Regions from separate parts of the Homo sapiens genome. Here all the other regions are linked to region 5. Evidence: promoter capture Hi-C in 16 types of primary human blood cells and fetal thymus (Javierre and others, 2016). All regions are on one chromosome and are shown on one strand. Each heading gives the region's core, a stretch centred on a gene start or on the middle of the fragment in contact. The rest is flanking DNA. Distances are from core to core; before and after follow the strand shown. Region 1 overlaps CLINT1 (clathrin interactor 1). Region 2 overlaps CYFIP2 (cytoplasmic FMR1 interacting protein 2). Region 3 has its middle 2.6 kb from the start of CYFIP2. Region 4 overlaps CLINT1 (clathrin interactor 1). Region 5 holds the start of UBLCP1 (ubiquitin like domain containing CTD phosphatase 1). Region 6 has its middle 30 kb from the start of ADAM19. Region 7 overlaps LSM11 (LSM11, U7 small nuclear RNA associated).

Region 1 (2,700 bases), core at 7-2,506, 1.4 Mb before region 5:
CCACAGGTGCCTGCCACCACGCCCGGCTAATTTTTTTTTGTATTTTTAGTAGAGACGGGGTTTCACCGTGTTAGCCAGGATGGTCTCGATCTCCTGACCTCGTGATCCGCCTGCCTCCACCTCCCAAAGTGCTGGGATTACAGGCGTAAGCCACCATGCCCGGCCGCATTTTAGTAATTCTTACAATATTTCCAACTTTTTCATTATTCTTTCTGTTATAGCAGTCTGTGATCAGTGATCTTTGATGTTACTATTGTAATTGTTTGGGGATAGCATGAACCACGCTGCTAATTGATAGTAAGTTGAATGTGTCCTGACTGCTCCACTGACTGCCCATTCCTGCCGCTCTCCCTCTCCTCTGGCATCTCTATTCCCTTAGACACAATATTGACATTAGGTCAATTAATAACCCTACAATGACCTCTAAGTGTTCAAGTGAAAGGAAGAGCTGCACATCTCCTACTTTCAATCAAAAGCTAGAAATGATTAAGCTTAGGAAGGTATGTTGAAAGCTGAGACAGGCTAAAAGCTATGCCTCTTGTGCCAAAAAGTTAGGTTGTGAATGCAAAGGAAATGTTCTTGAAGGAAATTTAAAGTGCTAGTCTAGTGAACACAACAATGATAAGTGAAACAGAGCTTCACTGCTGATATGGAGAAAGTTTGAGTGGTTTGAATAGAATATCAAACTAGCCACAACATTCCCTTAAGCCAAAGCCTAATCCAGAGCAAGGCCCTAACTCTATACAGTTCTATGAAGGCTGAGAGAGGTGAGGAAGCTGCAAAAGAGAAGCTGAAGCTAGCAGAAGTTTATGAGGTTTAAGAAAAGAAGCCGCCTCCATAAGAGAAAAATTTAAGGTGAAACAGTAAGTGCTGATGTAGAAGCTATGGCAAATTATCCAGAAGGTCTAGCTAAGATCATCTAATGAAAGTGGTTACACTAAACAGATTTTCAATGGAGATGAAACGGCCTTCCAGTGGAAGATGCCATCTAGGACTTTCATAGCTAGAGAGGTCAGTGCCTGGCTTCAAAGCCTCAAAGGACAGGCTGAATCTCTTCTCATGGGCTAACGCAGCTGTGAGCCAGTGCTCACTGCACATTATGAAAATCCTGGGGCCCTTAAGAATTATGCTAAATCTACTCTGCTTGTGCTATAGAAATAGAACAACAAAGCCTAAATGATGGCGCATCTGTTTACAGCATAGTTTACTGATTATTTTAAGCCCACTGTTGAGATCTACTGCTCAGAAGAAAAGATTCTTTTCAAAATATTATTTCACATGGACAAGGAGTCACCAAGGAGCTCTGATGGAGACGTACAAAGAGATGAGTGTTTTCATGTCTGCTAACACAATGTTCGTTTTGTAGCCCATGGATCAAGAAGTCATTTAGACTTTCAAGTCTTATTATTTAAGAAAATACATTCCATAAGGCTGTAACTGCCTAGCTAGTGATTCCTCTGATGGATCTGGGAAAAGTAAATTGAAAACCTTCTGGAAAGAATTCACCATACTAGTTTTGCCATTAAGAATATTAGTGGCTGGGCACAGCTCACACCTGTAATCCTAGCACTTTGGGAGGCCAAGGCAGGAGGACTGCTTAAACTCAGGAGTTCAAGGCTAGCCTCAGCAACATAGCGAAACCTCATCTCTACAGAAAACTTAAAAATTAAAAATTAGCCAGGCGTGGTGGTGGGCGCCTGTAGTCCCAGCTACTTGGGAGGCTGAGGCAGGAGAATGGCGTGAACCCAGGAGGCAGAGCTTGCAGTGAGCCGAGATCGTGCCACTACACTCCAGCCTGGGCGACAGAGCAAGACTCCGTCTCAAAAAAAAAAAAAATTGTGATTCATGGTAAAAATATCAACATTTACAGGAGTCTGGAAGTTGATTCCAAACCTCATGGATCACTTTGAGGGGTTCAAGACTTCAGTGACGGACGTCACTGCAGATGTGGTGAGAACAGCAAGAAAACTAGAATTAGGAGCGGAGCCTGAAGATGTGACTGAATTGCTGTAATCTCATGATAAAGCTTGAATGATGAGTTGCTTCTTCTAGATGAGCAAAATAAGTGGTTTCTTGAGATGGACTCTACTGCCAGTGAAGAACATGGTTAAAATGACAACAAAGATTTTTCTTGTTTTTCTTGAGACGATGTCTCCCTCCATTGCCCAGGCCGGAGTACAGTGGCACCATCACTGTTCACTGCAGCCTTGACCTCCTGAGCTCAAGTAATCCTCCTACCTCAGCCTCTTGAGTAGCTGAGACTACTTGCCACCACACCTGACTAATTTTTGTATTTTTAGCAGAGATGAGGTTTCACCATATTGCTCAGGTTGGTCTTCAACTCCTGGGCTCAAGTGATCCACGTGCCTTGAACTCCCAAAGTACTGGGATACAGGTGTGAGCCACTGCACCTGGCCAAAAAAAATTTTTTTTTGAGATGGAGTCTCGCTCTGTCGCCCAGGCTGGAGTGGCACTATCTTGGCTCACTGAAACCTCCACTTTCCAGATTCAAGCAATTCTGCCTCAGCCTCCCAAGTAGCTGGGACTACAGGGGCCCGCCACTACCCCTGGCTAATTTTTGTATCTTTAGTAGAGATGGGGTTTCACCACATTGGCCAGACTGGTCTTGAACTCCTAGGCTCAAGCAATCCACCCGCCTCTCCCTCACAAAGCTCTGGGATTACAGGCGTGAGCCACTGC
Region 2 (2,700 bases), core at 93-2,592, 2.0 Mb before region 5:
ATTAATTCTATAAATTTATTGTAATTTTGTCTTTTGACATGTCTTTGCTGGCTACTGTGTTAAGTATTCTACATGCTGTAGTTATATAATCAAAATAAACATTGAGGACAGGCACTATTGTAAATTGTCACCCTTACAAGGTAAGGAAACTGAGGCTCGGAGAGGTTAAGGAACATGCTATTGTTTATATAGCTCATAAGTGGCAGATGACAGATTGAAACCCAGAACTCAAGCTTACCCACTACACTAGCCTAATATTTCACTTCAGTAAAAAGTCTTAATATTTCATTTCTTTCCAGAAAAATCAAACAGATAATGACAATGCAAGTATTTTGCTTACAGAGAAACAGGGTTTAAGCTGTAAATGTCAGAACCTGCATTTCCAAAGCCATGTTCTCCTGGCAGTCGCCCTGCATTTATGGGACCCACCCCCCTCTTGCTTGGGGTCTGTCAGTCATGTCTGCCTGGGGGGGCACCTAAAGCCCCCCCTTCTCAGAAGCAAATTGCTTGTGTGCCCAATGTTATTATTACTTTTGGTGAAACCAGGCCACCGACTGAGTTTGTTATGAAGACACTGCATTTAAACCCATCATGAATGCCCGCCACTGAGAATTTGCAGCTGTGTTTGGTAAATGATGCTCCCAGAACACTGTTAACTTTTAAATATTTTATTAATTTCTTTTTCAAAATGATGAAATGGTCACATGTTCGTAGACCGAATATAAAGAATCATTCTCACTTGGAAGATTGCGTAACAGGCAGGACACTTGGGCAGGAAAGAAGTACGTTCTTATTTTCATTTATACCTCTGTTCAAATTTCCAGAATATTTTTCCTTTCTGATTGATGTGGATTTGGCAGTGCCTACCAGCACTTGAGCTAAAAATGTCGGATTTCCTTCTCCCTTAGGCACTGAATGATCTACCAATGCTCATAGAAATCCACTACAGAAGTTGTATTTGCCAGGGGAGAAGAAAGATAGCATTAACATAAACAGACTCCTAATTTATTTGCTTTGTAGGTTGTTCACTTACTTATTGATTCTCTTCAAGGGATGTTCAGGGGTACTATTATGCTACAGAGGAGAACTTAATGGTTATTCTGGTAAATGAGTATTTTTGTGTGTGTGTGTGTGATGAAGTTTTGCCCTTGTTGCCCAGGCTGGAGTGCAATGGCATGATCTTGGCTCACTGCAACCTCTGCCTCCTGGGTTCAAGTGATTTTCCTGCCTCAGTCTCCTGAGTAGCTGGGATTACAGGCACCCACCACCACGCCTGGCTAATTTTTTTTTTTTTTTTGTATTTTTAGTAGAAATGGGATTTCTACTAAAGAAAAATTGACCAGGCTGGTCAGGCTGGTCTCGAACTCCTGACCTCAGGTGATCCACCCGTCTCAGCCTCCCAAAGTGCTGGGATTACAGGCGTGAGCCACCACACCCGTCTGTAAATGAGTATTTTTTAAGTTTGAGTAGCCCAGAAGAAACCTAGTTACAGGAGAAAAAAAGGGAAGTTGGATAAGAGCTGGGAGCTTATAAACTGATCTAGGGGATTTTATGAAAAATTTGAAACATATATAAAATTGGATGGAAAAATACAGTAATTTCTATGTATGTGTCACACACAATCTATAGTTACTAACTCACTGCGAATTTGTTTCATTTCTATTCACTCTTCCCCCATCTAGTATTATTTAGAAGCAAAACCCTGTGTCCTTTTATCTATATTTTAGTAGATCTTTCTGGAAGATATAGGTTCTTTTAAAACATAACCTTGATATTATCAAACCTAAATACAATATTTCCTTCATATTATCAAATATCCAGTCAGTACTAATTTTCTAATTTTCTCATAAAGTTATAATTTTATTTGTATGGTGGTTTGTTTGAAATAGGATCCAAATAAGGTCCACACATGATAGTGTGTTCAGTCTCTTCAAAATCTATAGACTTTCCTCCCATCTCTCTTTTCTATCTTTGCAATTTATTTGTTAGAGGTCCTGAGTCATTTGTCCAGCAGAATTTGTCATAGATTGCATTTTGCTGATTACATCACTGGGGTGTAGCATGTTTTTCTGCCCTCTTATATTTCCTGTGAGTTGGCGTCAAAGGCTTAATTAGATTCAGGTGTTTTGTTTTGGATCCAGCATTCTTGGTGCGTTTTTCCATCATTAAGCACATAATATCTGATTGTCTTTCATTTAGGGATGTTAACAGCTGATGATGATCCGTGCCTAGATCCATTTGTTTGTAGAGGTTGGAAAACAAGGATATTATCATTTTTCTGTTAAAAAGGAAAAAAATACTTTTATGGAAAGAAACATCCATCTCTTCTATAGTTCGGTTATCTAGTGGTATAGTTTAAGAAAGACAGGTTAAATGTTTGCTTTTATTTACCAATTCTCAACATAAAGGTTGGTTCACAGGCTCATCTAACAGTAACAAAGTAATAAAAACCAAGCTTTTATTAGATGTCTTTGTGATCCATCAGGGCTCTTCCAGCACATCACTCGATTTTAAAATCACTTGGAATAATAGTCCCTTTCTGTGGAGTTACTCCAATAGTACAACATATATATACATTCATTTGTTTCATTTTACTTTTCGATTTGGGGGCCACTTTTTATAAATTTAAATTTTATTTTATAAGTATGTAAAATGTTTTGACGTTTTCAAAGTCAAATCTACAAAATAAGGCATATTCAA
Region 3 (2,700 bases), core at 16-2,515, 2.0 Mb before region 5:
TGGGCTCAAGCAATTCTCTTGCCTATAAAATGAGGCAATTTTGAGCAAGTGGTCAGGTTCTATCTACAGAATGGCCAATGTAAATTCTGTAACTGACCATCAAGTTTATCTTTTCCTGCCACCCACATAAATACTTAGAACCAAATGTGTTAGCAAGCTCATAGCAGGTAGAGCTGTGATTGATTTTTGTTTTGTTTACATTTTGGTCTTATGTACATTCGATTCTCCATCTCATCTCTCTACTCTTTTCCTTCTTTTTAAAAAATTTCTTGCTGATTTTTAATTTTTTAACATAATGTATTCCTGTAACTTACATTTAATATGTTTTTAGAATAAGGTAGCATATTAGTAAACAAATGGACTTAGCTTGGAAGAGGGAAAGTGAGGCTGTATGAGATTGTGGTAAAAAGCATGGGTTTGACTTCACTACCTTGGGCAAATTATTAAACCTTAATTGCCTCAATTATAAAAATGGGAAAAATGATTGTATTTTCCTTATAGAAAAATTACGAAAAATTAAATGAGGTAATGTACTTGGTAAATGTTAGCCATTATTATTATTATCATTATTTATGTTTTCCCTTCATGCCCATTCCAGATACTTCATTACTGGTGTCTATAAAGCAGGGTCTCCTGATAGTTTTAAAATACATATATATATATATATTTTTTTTTTTTTTGAGACAGAGTTTTGCTCTTGTTGCCCAGGCTGGAGTGCAACAGTGTGATCTCGGCTCACTACAACTTCCACCTCCCGGGTTCAAGCAATTCTGCCTCACCCTCCTGAGTAGCTGGGATTACAGGCGCTCGCCACCATGCCCAGCTAATTTTTTGTATTTTTAGTAGAAACTGGGTTTCACTATGTTGGCCAGGCTGGTCTCGAACTCCTGACCTCAGGCAATCCACCTGCCTCGGCCTCCCAAAGTGCTGGGATTATAACTTGAAGCTTTTCTAAAACACAAGGTAATGTTGCCACATGGACAACATGTGGGCCACAGCTTTGCAAGTACCAAAGCAATTCTTATTGATATCCTCTACCATTTCATTGCTGATGCACAGCTTGGGGTTGGATGTGAAGGAAATCTGAAGGCAGTAGACAGACAGCTATACATTTCAGTGGCAAAGTTTAAAAATGTCACCTATGGGTGTTCATTCCATCCATTTTTACTGAACTCCTGTTAAGTACCAGGCTCCAAGGATGCAATGGGAAAGCAAGACAGACATATCCCTGCTCCCTTAGATTTTATGGTCTCATGGTGGAATACAGGGAAGTGTGTTGACAATTATAATGCAGACTAATACGTGGGGTGATAGAGGGAGCCCAGGCAGCTAAGGACACATAGACAACTAATCTCAAGCTAACCCAGACATGTAGGAATCTTGGAGGAAGCGACATCTAGAGGAATACCAGGAAGATGAACAGAACTTCATCAGGTAAACTGGGAAAAAGTGTGGAATGTGGAGGGAGGGAATGGGGGGACAGAAACTGCCATTGAAGAAGCCTTGCATGTACGAATGTCGAGCACAACAGAGAACACAGCAAGTTTGAGGAACTAAAAGCTGTTCCTTTTAGCTGAAGCACAGCAAGCTTGTTCACATGGAGAGATAGCTGCCAGCTCTTAAAGACCCTCTCCGGCCACTGGAGAGTTTGGGCTTCATCGGGGGGCAGTGGGGAGCTAGGGAAGTGCCTTAAGCCTGGGAGGGACGTGCCCTTTAACTCATGTAATTTTCCACATTCAGAGGGAAGTTGGAGAGCATCCAACTTACTTCACTTAACAGGTGAGGAAACAGGGGTGAGGCTCCTTGCCTAAGATCATTCTTCTGTTAGTTGCAAAACTAGAACCAAAAGGCAAGCCTCTGGATTTCCAACACAGTGGCTTCAAAAGACCATACTGCTCTCCTTTATACACAAATAGAACTCAGAGGTCGGAGTTATTTTTGCCTAAGATCTAACCAAATATATATGTAATAGTCTTTTCTGTTTTTAGGCAACTTGTTCCTGAAGGTGAAAAGACAGGGAAGGAACAACAGGGAGAAATACGTCTTCCAAAAAACTATACCATCTGCAATAATATGCCCCTTAGAATGAAAATCTGATTTATTGGGATTCTCATTGTTAAGTATTTGTAATCACTGAACTTGAAATCCCAAGGATCACGGTGGAAAATGAAACATTTTTTAAAAAGGAAACCTCAGTTCTGTTTTTAAACCCATCCTCCACAAACACCCCCACAGCTTTTCACACTGAACCAGGGAAGAAATGTATGTGTGTGTATATATATATATATATAAGTCATTTTTTTCCGAAATAGCAATTTGAATTGGAATTAGCGATTTAAGATCAAACCACAAGGAATTATGGATTCTGAGCACGTGGGAAATAAGGTGAGATCAGTAAAGGAAAGCAAAGGCTTCCACAAGTCCTTTGCTGGAGCTTGAATAACGGGGCTCCTCCACAAATTGCCCTTATTAGGAACAGCTGAGTGATTAAGTATAAATTTGTGGGCCTTAGGAAACCACTCCTTATATCTACATACACTCCACAATGTCTCAAATGTTTTCAAATTATTTACCCTGTAAGGTATAAAGGGCAACTGTTATTCCCTGTGTTGCAGATACGGTGACCTCTGTGGAGCAGAGTGGTGAAGTGACCTGCTCAGGTGTCTCAAGGTTAGAATTTGGTGCAGCCTGACTTCAGCC
Region 4 (2,700 bases), core at 167-2,666, 1.4 Mb before region 5:
TACAGAGAACAAGACCCTGTCTCCCACTCCCCTCCCCCAAAAAAAGCTATTTTCCAATGAAGCTGTTGCTTTCAGAAACTGCAAAGAACCCCCTCAAGATGAGATTTGATGGCATAAAGAATTCCAAGACAAAGTATTTTAAGCTTCAACTAATTCAGAAACAAATGTAAACTAAAAACAACACTGTATGGTTTGGCCTTATTCCAGGTCATTTAAAAATAACTATTTCTAAAAAGGTAGAAATGGCATTTTAATCCTTCCTTTCTCATGTTTTCTACTGCCCTCAATCTATGCCCTACCCATAATTCCAGTGACCTTTTTTAAAAAAGAAAACAATCCCTCCGTGTTAAAAATAAAAATAAAAATTATGTCCAGATTTGAAAGGAAAAAAATGGCTAGTTTAATTCTGAAAACTTCTGACACAAATGTTTTAAGAATATATCACAGACGCTAGAGGGGGCACTCTCAACGGTTTCTTAAACACACACACAACAATCCAGACAAAGGTCTAGAATTTGATCTGCAAACAAAATTACAGAAAAAGACACCGCCCCTCCCCAATAAATTTCATACCATTTAAACTAACACTACAGTCAAACAAGTGACTTACGGACTTTCACCAATCCTAAATTGAGATTCCTAACTTGAAATTTTAAAAAATTATCTCTTTACACTTAGTTGTTGTTTTTTTTAAAGTACCGGCAACCATTATTATGACCTTCTGTTGAAGGCTCAAAGTCTTTGGATACAGGCTTTTCTACTTACATTTCCTTTCATGTAATTATCATTATAACACTTAAAGGTAACCAAGAATACTTTGATAACACCAAAAAAATTTTCTGTATATTATTTTAAACCAGTCTGACAGTAATACCAAAAGAAAACTTGACCCACAAAATATCTAATGATTTTTAACATTTCTGCTGTCACCATCAATAACTACCTTTTATTTCCAGATTTTTATCTGTATTTAATTTCTGCAAACATAAACAGACATGAGATGTAATAATGGAGGGAAAGTAAAAGAAGAAAAATAACTTTAAGAAATGCTGCTGTTTCACAAGAGAACATAAACCAGGAAAAAAAATGTTGCTGTAATTTTTACATTTCTTCACTAGTTTAAATAGTATCTGTAATTTTCAGAACAATCTAATAGTCACCAGAAAGTACAAAATGAGCCCTTCTCACATGTGTTCTATCTAGGCTTACTCAACATATTAACTTTCTCTTTGCTTAAAACAAGAGTCTTGAAAATGAGTGACTTGAAGAGTAGGTTTCTCTGTCCTGATAAAGATAGGTAATTACTAGGATCACACTGTTTAAATGTAACAGTTACAACTACTGGGTAGTTCAGCAGTATAACTGGCTAACAATACCAAATCTTAACGGACTCTAATATTAGGCCAAAAAGAAAGTTAAGAGAGGGAATGAAAGATGGAAGGAATCACCAAAGAATGAAGAATACAAGAATAAAATCCATAGACACAATCATTATTGTTTATGAAACTGTTTGTTGTTTCCAAAGTGCTTTTACTCATTTTCACATTTGCTTCTCAGAACACTCCAGCAACTTCACTCTGCACAACTCAGCAACACTGACTCACTAGATCTTTAGTGCCAACTGCGAGAAGTTACCATCCTCAAGTTTTGCACACATGCTTTGATATGGTTTGGCTGTGTCCCCACCCAAATCTCATCTTGAATTGTACTCTCATAATTCCCACGTGTTGTGGGAGGGACCTGTTGGGAGATAATTTGAATCATGAGGGCGGTTTCCCTCATACTGTTCTAGTGGTAGTGAGTAAGTCTCACAAGATTTGATGGTCTTTTTTTTTTTTTTATACTTTAAGTTCTAGGGTACATGTGCACAACGTGCAGGTGTATACATGTGCCATGTTTGTATGCTGCAACCGTTAACTCGTCATTTACATGAGGCATATGTAATGCTATCCCTCCCAAGATCTCATGGTCTTATCAGGGGTTTCTGCTTTTGCCTCTTCCTCATTTTCCCTTGCTGCTGCCATGTAAAAAGTGCCTTTCACCTCCCGCCATGATTCTGGGGCCTCCCCAGCCATGTGGAACTGTGTCCAATTAAACCTCTTTTTCTTCCCAGTCTTGGGTATGCCTTTATCAGCAGCATGAAAATGGACTAACACATGCTTCTAGAGCTATGTAAACACAGCCAGTATTCAGTTAGTCAAGGGTCAACTATTCAGTTTGTAAATTATTAGTGTTCATCGTAGCCCTCCTCTTTATTCTCCATTTTCTGCTTATTTGACTACTTGACATTCAGATAATATCAAATTATTTTACTTGGTAAGTTTCAGTCCAGTTTTTAGAGGTAGAATTGATTAAAAGCTAAAATGAGGCTTTTACTTACAGGCAGTCAATACTTCTTATCTACATTAAGAATCATCAGTAAAATAATTAACAAGAAAAAACTTGAGCAGTCCTTGTTGGTATTTTTTCCTCTTAAAAGTTCAAGAATATGCTTTGCTAAAACAAAACTATACACCAAGAGAAAAGGTAAAGTATAGGTATAATGTGGTACTAACTGCTAACAAAGGAATAAGGAGTAAAGTGAAACAGATTGAGAAGTATTTTTCCCAGTTTGCCTTTTAAATTTTATTCCTTTAAAAAAAAACTGAAGTCAAATGAATCTATATTTTTTATATGGTTTCTCTTTGTTTTAAGCTTATT
Region 5 (2,700 bases), core at 69-2,568:
GAGACTATCCCAACCTTTCTCCTCTATTTTGAAATACAAAATAAATTATTGATTACTATAGTCACCCTACTGTGCTGTGGAACGCTACAACTTATTCCTTCTGTCTAACCATATTTTCGCTCCTTTTAACTTCTCTTCATCTCCTTCTCCCTCCTTATCCTTCCCAGCCTCTGGTAACCACAATTTTACTCTCTATCTCCATGGAGTCAACTTTTTTTTAGCTCCCACATATGAGCACCAAACTTCAATGTAAGACCCAAAACTATGCAGCTATTCCAAGAAAACGATTTGAGAAAATGCTTGAAAATGTTGGTCTGGGCAATGATTTTTTTTTTTTTTTTAATTAAGACTTTCTGAAGAAAAGGGCATACTTTTCACTGAAAAAGTTTGAGTTTTTTAAATGAGCAGATACTCATGCATTACTAGTGCAGCCAAAAATTATCAAAAGTAGGGAAGAATGCAAAATAGCGTGTGCCTCTTAACTAAAGAACTGTTAAGATACAAAACTTGGCTCTTTGCTGCCTTTCCCGCACTGCCAAGAGGGAAACATGAATTAGTTACATTGCCGTGGTGCTCACTGGGAGTTCGCTGTATGGACCAGATGGGTACTGCTCCGAATTTCCATTCAAGTCTGACATTCTTTTGTCAGCGTTTGTGTAACCGGTTTTCCTTGCATTCAGAGGAAAGACAGCATGGAAGTATGGATGGGAAGGTTGAGACGATTGGATACTGTATGGTAACCTCGATCGCAGCTCTCCTATGAGACTTGCTTCTTGGATTCTGAGTCACTTAAGCTTGCCCCTTCTCTTTCCTGACCCTCTTCCGTTTCCCCTTAGATTGGAGATTCTCCTCAGATTCTAAGTCTCTGAAATTATTAGTGTTGGCAGCCCCTGGGCCCATGGAGGGGTCTCAAGTCTTCAGTTCTCAAAGATCACCTTTTAAGCTTCATTCGGAACATGACACAGCCACACGAGTCCTAGCCCTGAATCTCACGAAGACCTCAGTACACCTGGAAAAGGCAGCACACCCAGTTACGACACTACTAGAGACGTCACACGCCTCAGCACCCATCCGCTCCCAGCCCAGAACGAGCGCACGCGCAGAACGAGAGAGCGGCCACCCAGGGATCGGCGCTATCTGCACAGCGGTTACAGTCTCGGAAAGGCCTGGCTTCTTCGTGGCTTTGTGGAGATCCCTTACAGCGGCCATTTGATTAGCACCCGAAGAGATTCAAAGGAAGCAGTTGTTCCGTCCCCAACATATTTCCGTTTCAAACCACCCACTTCCGGTTTTTCAGCCGGTTCCGGTCCCGCCCTTCACTTCCGGTCGCTTTCGGTCTCTCAGCGGCCGGTTTCTGCGTCCGCTGCCGCAGGTTCCACCGCGCTCCAGGTGAGGGGTTGCGGGGCACCCTGGCGCGCTGCCCTTGGAGACGCTGTTGGGGCTCGGGGACAGTGGCTTTGCGGCCCGCGCGGCGTGGCTTGCACTGCGGCGGGCTGGGGATAGTGTCTGTCCTAGTCTGACGCCCAGGCCCCTAGCCCCGGCCCGCTTAGTCGCGGGGGCCGCTGTCCTCCCATCCAGCAGTCTAGCCTATTTGGAGGGCTTTCTGTTTCCCAGTGGGTTTTGCGTCCCCAAACTTCATTCCTCCGTCTTCTCAGGCTTGTCCATCCCTCCCCTCAACCTCCTTGTTGAAGGCATCCCGGCCTTTTTGGTTCTGGAGCCTCCACCTGCCTCCTAATGCTCCCCTAAGTCAGTTAGCACAGCCCCCGACCCTGCACCACCTCGCAGTTGTTGCTGGTGTGCGGTTCTCGCCGGAGTTCTTAGTGCTTCACGGTTATCTTTTGCTGGGATTGTTGAAAGTTAACCTCCCGTTAATTCCCAAAGTGTTACTTTTACTGCTATACTTTAAAATTTCTTCATTTGCCACTTTTTAGGTTTGTGGTCCCGGGCAAGTTTAATTTCTTTTCAGGATTCTCATTTGTATAATGAGGACAACAGCTGTTGGTTCAGGATTGTGAAGCTTCAATGAGATAATTGTTTAGCATGTTTTTATTCCATCATGAACACCATTTGTATTGTGTTTTACAGTTTACAAAGTGCTGTCACAGGTGTTACTTCATACCTTAACACTACTCCTGTCCAGTGAATATTAGTAGCCTCATCTTGTTGAGAAGACTGAGGCCAAGAGGTGGATTGACTAGGCAAAGTCAACACAGTATGTTAGGTAGAACTCCAACCTAAACAGCTATTCTTGACCCTAGGTTGACCATATGGAAGTGTATTCTTTGCTTGCTTGTTTGGGTTTGCCAACTTCACTCCTCCCCACACCCCAAATCATTTTTCAGCTTATAAATCTGATGGGATCTGAAATGATACAAAATACTAAGAAAGAAGGTTAAATGTGAAAGCAAAATAGCTCATGCATTTATATCACACTGCTTCATTGGTGTGAACGGTCTTAATGATGAAATAAGGTTCAGTAACTTTTAAACAAATCTTAAAGACATATGCATTTACAATTTTTATGGTGTTTGTTTCGCTTGGCCCTTTAAGGCATTTGCCAACTTGGAATTTCCACTTGTGGGATAGGTGCTTCGTAACGTTTTTATGCTGCTTTATTAACCATATAGAGCCCATGCCCTCTGGCACATTTTTTTTAAGGCTGAAAACATTGAAGAGCCTGTAGTACTGACTCTCAAATTT
Region 6 (2,700 bases), core at 143-2,642, 1.7 Mb before region 5:
CCCAGGAAACAGCTTTAAAAGGAGAAGTTTACCTAAAGATGAGAAATACTAACTGGGGCTGAGCACTGGCTTCCTCCCAATGTCAATATTCCTGCAAGGTTTAAGGATTGGGATCCCATTTGAAGAAGCACTTGTCGGAAGAAATAATGATGTTCTGTCTTTTTCAAAGAGTCGGAAACCTTTGTGATGAACAAAGTCATAATTAAAGACCTTTAGTTCAGGATTGCACTAACAGTTTGATAGTTACGGATGACTGAGGAGAAATTTCCAATACCAATTATATGGAGCCTCTTTCTTTCTTTCTTTCTTTCTTTCTTTCTTTCTTTCTTTCTTTCTTTCTTTCTTCTTTTTTTTTTTTGAGACGGAATTTCACTTTTGTTGCCCAGGCTGGAGTGCAGTGGGGCGATCTCGGCTCACTGCAACCTCTGTCTCCTGGGTTCAAGCGATTCTCCTGCCTCAGCCTCCCGGGTAGCTGGAATTATAGGCATCTGCCACCAGGCCTGGCTAATTTTTTGTATTTTTAGTAGGGACGGGGTTTCACCATGTTGGCCAGGCTGGTCAAGAGCTCCTGACCTGAGGTGATCCACCTGCCTCGGCCTCCCAAAAGTGCTGAGATTACAGGCGTGAGGCCTACATGGATCCCTTTTCATTCAACAGACAAGCAGACAATTAAGATAATATTCTAAAAAGGCCTTAGAGTTCCAGATTAAGGAACCTTGGGACCAGGCTGACTTAGGCTAAATTCCACTCTCTCCCCCATGTCACAGGTAAGATCCATGCCTTGGAAGTTAGGTAGTTTTTGCCTTGAACATCTTCAGTAATCAGCTTGAATTTTCTAAATGCAACTTCATCATTCTGCAAATCAGCAAGACTCACTTCAAACACACGACCCTTCAGACTACCAGGTGCAATTTTGGTTCCCTGGGTCCTGGTGACCAGTGTCTTTCCAGTATTTCTTCTACTGAACATAGCATGCTTTCACATCGTACCAATCTTTCTTAGAAAATGGATCAACCAGCCAGGGGTGGTGGCTCACACCTGTAATCCTAGCACTTTGGGAGGCCGAGGCAGGTGGATCACCTGAGGTCAGGAGTTCAAGACCAGCCTGGCCAAGATGGTGAAACCCCGTCTCTACTAAAAATAGAAAAATTAGACTGGGCGCAGTGACTTAAGCCTGTAATCCCAGCATTTTGGGAGGCCATGGCGGGTGAATCACCTGAGGTCAGGAATTTGAGACCAGGCTGGCCAACATGGTGAAACCCCCGTCTCTACTAAAGATACAAAAACTTAGCCGTGTGTGGTGGCACACGCCTGTAATCCCAGCTACTTGGGAGGCAGAGGCAGGATAATTGCTTGAACCTGGGAGGCAGAGGTTGCAGTGAGCCGAGATCGTGCCATTGCACTCTAGCCTGAGCAACAGAGTGAGACGCTATCTCAAAAAAAAAAAAAAAAAAAATTAGCCAGGCATGGTAGCAGGCACCTGTAATCCCAGCTACTCAGGAGGCTGAGGCATGAGAATTGCTTGAACTCGGGAGGCGGAGGTTGCAGTGAGCTGAGATCACACCATTGTATTCCAGCCAGGGGGATAGAGCAAGACTGTCTCAAAAAAAAGAAAAAAGAAAAAAAGAAAATGGATCAGCCACTTCTTGGCTCCCTTTTTGCTGTCTTTCGTAAGGTACTTGTTCTTGCCAACCACCATGTTGCTGCTCAGAATGATCTTTTCAATAAACGGTACTGAAAGAACTGGACAGCCATATGAAAAAAATGAACTTCGACCTTTAGCTCACATCATACACAAAAATTAATTTGAAATAAATAATAGAGACAAAAGTTGTGAACATAAATACATTCAAAAGCTGTTGGAACCCCCAAAGCACTTTTTTTTTCTGGCAAAGTCCCACCTCAGCCTCCGAGTAGCTGGGACTATAGGTGCGCACCACCACACCTGGCTAATTTTTGTATTTTTTTGTAGAGACAGGGTTTCGCCATGTTGCCCAGGCTGGTCTTGAGTTCCTGAGCACAAGCAATCAGCCCACCTTGGCTTTCCAGCATGCTGGGATTATAGGTATGTGCCACCACACCTGGCTTCCAAAAAGACTTTAAACCTTGAGAGAGAACTGGTGATCTGAGTCACTTAGCATGTAGTTGCAACTTCTGCTTCTTAGATTATAGATCAACTCTCTTTTCTCATTGTTCTTGTGCTATAAATGACTGGGAGAGACCAGAGACCAGATGTCCTCCCCTTCTAATCACTGACCTTTGTTATAGATTGTCTCCTGCATTATTCTGTACCTAACTCAAACCAGATGGCGCAAAAGACCTCATGACTGTTTCATCTTCAGTATGGAATGTTCAGTATATCTTTCCTGAAAGAAAAAGATGACCTTCACCAATCAGACCATTGTAATTATGCATTAAGCCTTACATAAGGCCGGGCATGGTGGCTCACAGCAGGAATCCTAGCACTTTGGGAAACCAAGGTGGGATAATCACTGGAGCCCAGGAGTTTAAGGCCAGCCTGGGCAACACGGCGAAGCCCTGTGTCTATAAAAAATTGACTGGGTATGATGGCACACACCTGCAGTCCCAGCTACTCAGCAGACTGAGGTGGGAGGATCACCTGATCTCAGGAGGTCGAGCCTGTAGTGAACGCTGATGGTGCCACTGCATTCCAGCCTAGGTTGCAGAATGAAAGTCTGT
Region 7 (2,700 bases), core at 58-2,557, 1.5 Mb before region 5:
GTTTGGGGGACCTTAATTTGCCTATGCAATTTGCCACCATTAGGTAGTTGAAATGCACTCCAAGTCTCATTGCAACATTTATTTCTATTTTACCAGTTATTGCTTTGCTACCAAGATTGTCAAGGGAAAGGAATATTCCTGTGTATTGCTATGTGGTGGGTGGTTTTAGCTTTCCCTATAGAGCACTTTACTGTAATGGTATGACAGTGTGTGAAGACCAGCTTTGTCAACTTCTTATGATTAAGTATATATCCCTGGAATCAAGATCTCAGAGAATATGCCCTACATACTGAAAATTTTCACCATGGCACTGCAGACAGTTGAGTGTACATGAGAGAAAGGCATTGACGTCGCACAGAGTTGATGACCTTCAGAAAGCAAGAAAACAACAGAAACATGGGTGAGGATTGGATTCATTCAAGAAAGAGTTCCTACTTGAGGGTGAAGGGTGGGAGGAGGGTGAGAATCACAAAACTACCTATTGGGTACTGTGATCACTACCTGGGTGACAAAATAATTTGTGCACCAAACCCCAGTGACACACGATTTACACCTGCAACAAACCTTTCGTGTACCTCCTGATCCAAAAACAAAAGTTGGAAGGGGGGAAAAAAAAGAACTAGGTATGTTTTATATGTATGCCACAGTTTTAATTTAAAAAAATATATGCCTACTCTAAACTCTGATTGGATACAGTTGCTCAGGAAAATCAAAATATAGATACCAGTAAGATAATACTATTTGTGGACATATACAAATGCTTTCTGGAAAAAAATGCCTATGCATTTGAGAATGCATAATCCTTTGCAAAATATTCACATAAAATGTAAGTTCCATCAGGCTGTAACAGCAAGAAGAAGCTTTGTTAGGTCATATCATCAGTGAAACATAATGAAGAATACATGAGGAGCTACATTTTGTCGCTGACTTTAAAATGATGTATTTCATCAATTCAGATCCAAGTTACCCATCCAAATTCACAGAGAGGACAGTGTGGAATGTTTATGAAAAAACAAGGAGTGCAAAATTAAGTGTAATGGTGTTTTAACTGTAAAATATTTCACTTTGTATCTCTGTCATAGAATCTCTTTGAATTCCCTTGTGGAGCAGTTGTATTCTTTTCCTTGCAGTAATAAAATTTTAAAAGTAGCCAGGCACAGTGGCTCACACCTGTAATCCCAGCACTTTGGGAGGCCGAGGCGGGCAGAACACTTGAGGCCAGGAGTTCAAGACCAGCCTGGCCAACGTGGTGAAACCCTGTCTCTACTAAAAATACAAAAATTAGTTGGGCATGGCAGCATCTGCCTCTAGTTCCAGCTGTTCAGGAGGATGAGGCACGAGAATCGCTTGAACCCTGTAAGTGGAAGCTGCAGTGAGCCGAGATCATAGGGACATCATAGAGACCTCTACAGAGGTGATACGAGGTCTCAAAAAAAAGTAATAATAAAAGTATAGGAGGCTGTTGCAATACTGGGAATACTAAAGAAGAAAAAAAGCATAGGAGGAAAGGTTTTTCGTCATCATTAAGCCTAAGCCATCACTGATACCAACAAAGAACTCACACACAAGCTGTACTTGCAAGTGGAATGCAATTGCTTTTCCTCCTTTTTAATATTGACATGCCTATAGAGATGGTAAGACAAGACTAAAGAGCATTATCCTCTTTTCCACATAATTCTAGTGTCTATATTTCTCCTTAGTATCGCAGCACCATACCTAGCCCACGGTGGTTCTGGTTTATAATTGTGCTTCAAGCAAGCTTTTTCTAGGTATATCTGTCACTGTGAAATGAACTGGTGTGTTCAAGCTCACGTCTTGACATTATAAAGCTGTAAGAAAAAGTGTTATCATTACTTTGTTTTAGCTACAGGTGTGTTGGTGTGCAGCCTGTGCCGGTGTGAACAAGTGTGTGTGGTCAATCCAAAATGCATATGACATGCAGGGTTTGGCTCCTAGACCATTGTCTAGGTGAATGGCTTGTCTCCAGTTCCAAATTCAGTTTTCCTGCAGGGAGCCTACACAGTCCTTTTACTCGCACACATCCTGCTGAGAAGGATTTCAAAACAAACCTGATTTATTGGGCCTCTGACGTGATACCATGATTGAAAATTTGTTTGAGTCCTGTTGTTGTAGTTTACTTTGATTGCTGAAATAATTTCCCACAATATGGTGTCTTGATGTTTTCATTTTAATAAAGTGATATTCTTTGGATAACTTTGACTTCACTTCCTGCAAATAAAGAGCAAGAAAATAGGCAAAATCAAGAACATCTGAGCCCTGTGTACAGCAGTAAAATGAACTCTCAAATTTGAACAGCATCTCTGTTACACAGAGGTTGCCAAAAGGGCATGAGTATGACTTACATAAAACCGAGAACAGCGGTACTTAGGCTTCAGAAAAGGCCAAGCTTAAAATTCAGCCTTGTCACTTTTCTCAGCTCATTGCAGCTGTTTCCAGTCAGCTGTCTCCAGTGCAACTAAGGAATAGTCTCAGATGATTTCTGCACCACACTGCTGTGTGTGTGTGTGTGTGTGTGTGTGTGTGTGTGTTTAGGCCAGTTTGACATAGCATCACAATAGGGAAGACACTGATGTGCCTTTGCCGGGTCACTGATTCAAACATTGTACTTTCAATCTGTCATGGCACCCTTCTATAGAATGGCAACTAAAACTATTTTCAGAGAAAAGAGAAAATATTTTT

What was found. Contacts are between HindIII fragments. The CHiCAGO score rates a contact against its expected background, and 5 or more counts as called.
Region 1: a contact is called between a fragment that was not itself captured here and the fragment with the promoter of UBLCP1 in region 5, in 1 of 17 cell types (fetal thymus). The highest score is 5.1, in fetal thymus.
Region 2: a contact is called between a fragment that was not itself captured here and the fragment with the promoter of UBLCP1 in region 5, in 2 of 17 cell types (naive CD8 T cells and naive CD4 T cells). The highest score is 6.1, in naive CD8 T cells.
Region 3: a contact is called between a fragment that was not itself captured here and the fragment with the promoter of UBLCP1 in region 5, in 1 of 17 cell types (fetal thymus). The highest score is 8.0, in fetal thymus.
Region 4: a fragment that was not itself captured here is called in contact with the fragment with the promoter of UBLCP1 in region 5 in 7 of 17 cell types (fetal thymus, total B cells, erythroblasts and 4 more); the score reaches 8.8 in fetal thymus.
Region 6: a contact is called between a fragment that was not itself captured here and the fragment with the promoter of UBLCP1 in region 5, in 1 of 17 cell types (activated CD4 T cells). The highest score is 5.3, in activated CD4 T cells.
Region 7: a contact is called between a fragment that was not itself captured here and the fragment with the promoter of UBLCP1 in region 5, in 5 of 17 cell types (fetal thymus, activated CD4 T cells, total CD8 T cells and 2 more). The highest score is 14.6, in fetal thymus.

Annotation. Positions count from the first base shown.
Region 1 is chr5:157,845,689-157,848,388 of GRCh38, forward strand. All of the region lies in intron 1 of CLINT1 (clathrin interactor 1), which reads right to left. Among named protein-coding and RNA genes, the nearest start is that of CLINT1, 12 kb to the right of the region's middle. The HindIII fragment of the contact is 1,535 bases long and covers 490-2,024 here.
Region 2 is chr5:157,279,083-157,281,782 of GRCh38, forward strand. All of the region lies in intron 1 of CYFIP2 (cytoplasmic FMR1 interacting protein 2), which reads left to right. Among named protein-coding and RNA genes, the nearest start is that of CYFIP2, 14 kb to the left of the region's middle. The HindIII fragment of the contact is 2,222 bases long and covers 232-2,453 here.
Region 3 is chr5:157,262,127-157,264,826 of GRCh38, forward strand. No RefSeq gene overlaps it. Among named protein-coding and RNA genes, the nearest start is that of CYFIP2, 2.6 kb to the right of the region's middle. The HindIII fragment of the contact is 642 bases long and covers 945-1,586 here.
Region 4 is chr5:157,820,387-157,823,086 of GRCh38, forward strand. The region is part of intron 1 of CLINT1 (clathrin interactor 1); the gene reads right to left. Among named protein-coding and RNA genes, the nearest start is that of CLINT1, 37 kb to the right of the region's middle. The HindIII fragment of the contact is 2,551 bases long and covers 142-2,692 here.
Region 5 is chr5:159,261,972-159,264,671 of GRCh38, forward strand. It overlaps UBLCP1 (ubiquitin like domain containing CTD phosphatase 1), which reads left to right and starts at 1,319. Exons shown (of 11, transcript NM_145049.5): 1 at 1,319-1,389. RefSeq lists enhancers at 544-1,051, 886-955, 986-1,295, 1,052-1,559. The HindIII fragment of the contact is 1,074 bases long and covers 942-2,015 here.
Region 6 is chr5:157,603,937-157,606,636 of GRCh38, forward strand. No RefSeq gene overlaps it. Among named protein-coding and RNA genes, the nearest start is that of ADAM19, 30 kb to the left of the region's middle. The HindIII fragment of the contact is 2,938 bases long and covers 1-2,700 here.
Region 7 is chr5:157,745,480-157,748,179 of GRCh38, forward strand. All of the region lies in intron 1 of LSM11 (LSM11, U7 small nuclear RNA associated), which reads left to right. Among named protein-coding and RNA genes, the nearest start is that of LSM11, 3.1 kb to the left of the region's middle. The HindIII fragment of the contact is 899 bases long and covers 859-1,757 here.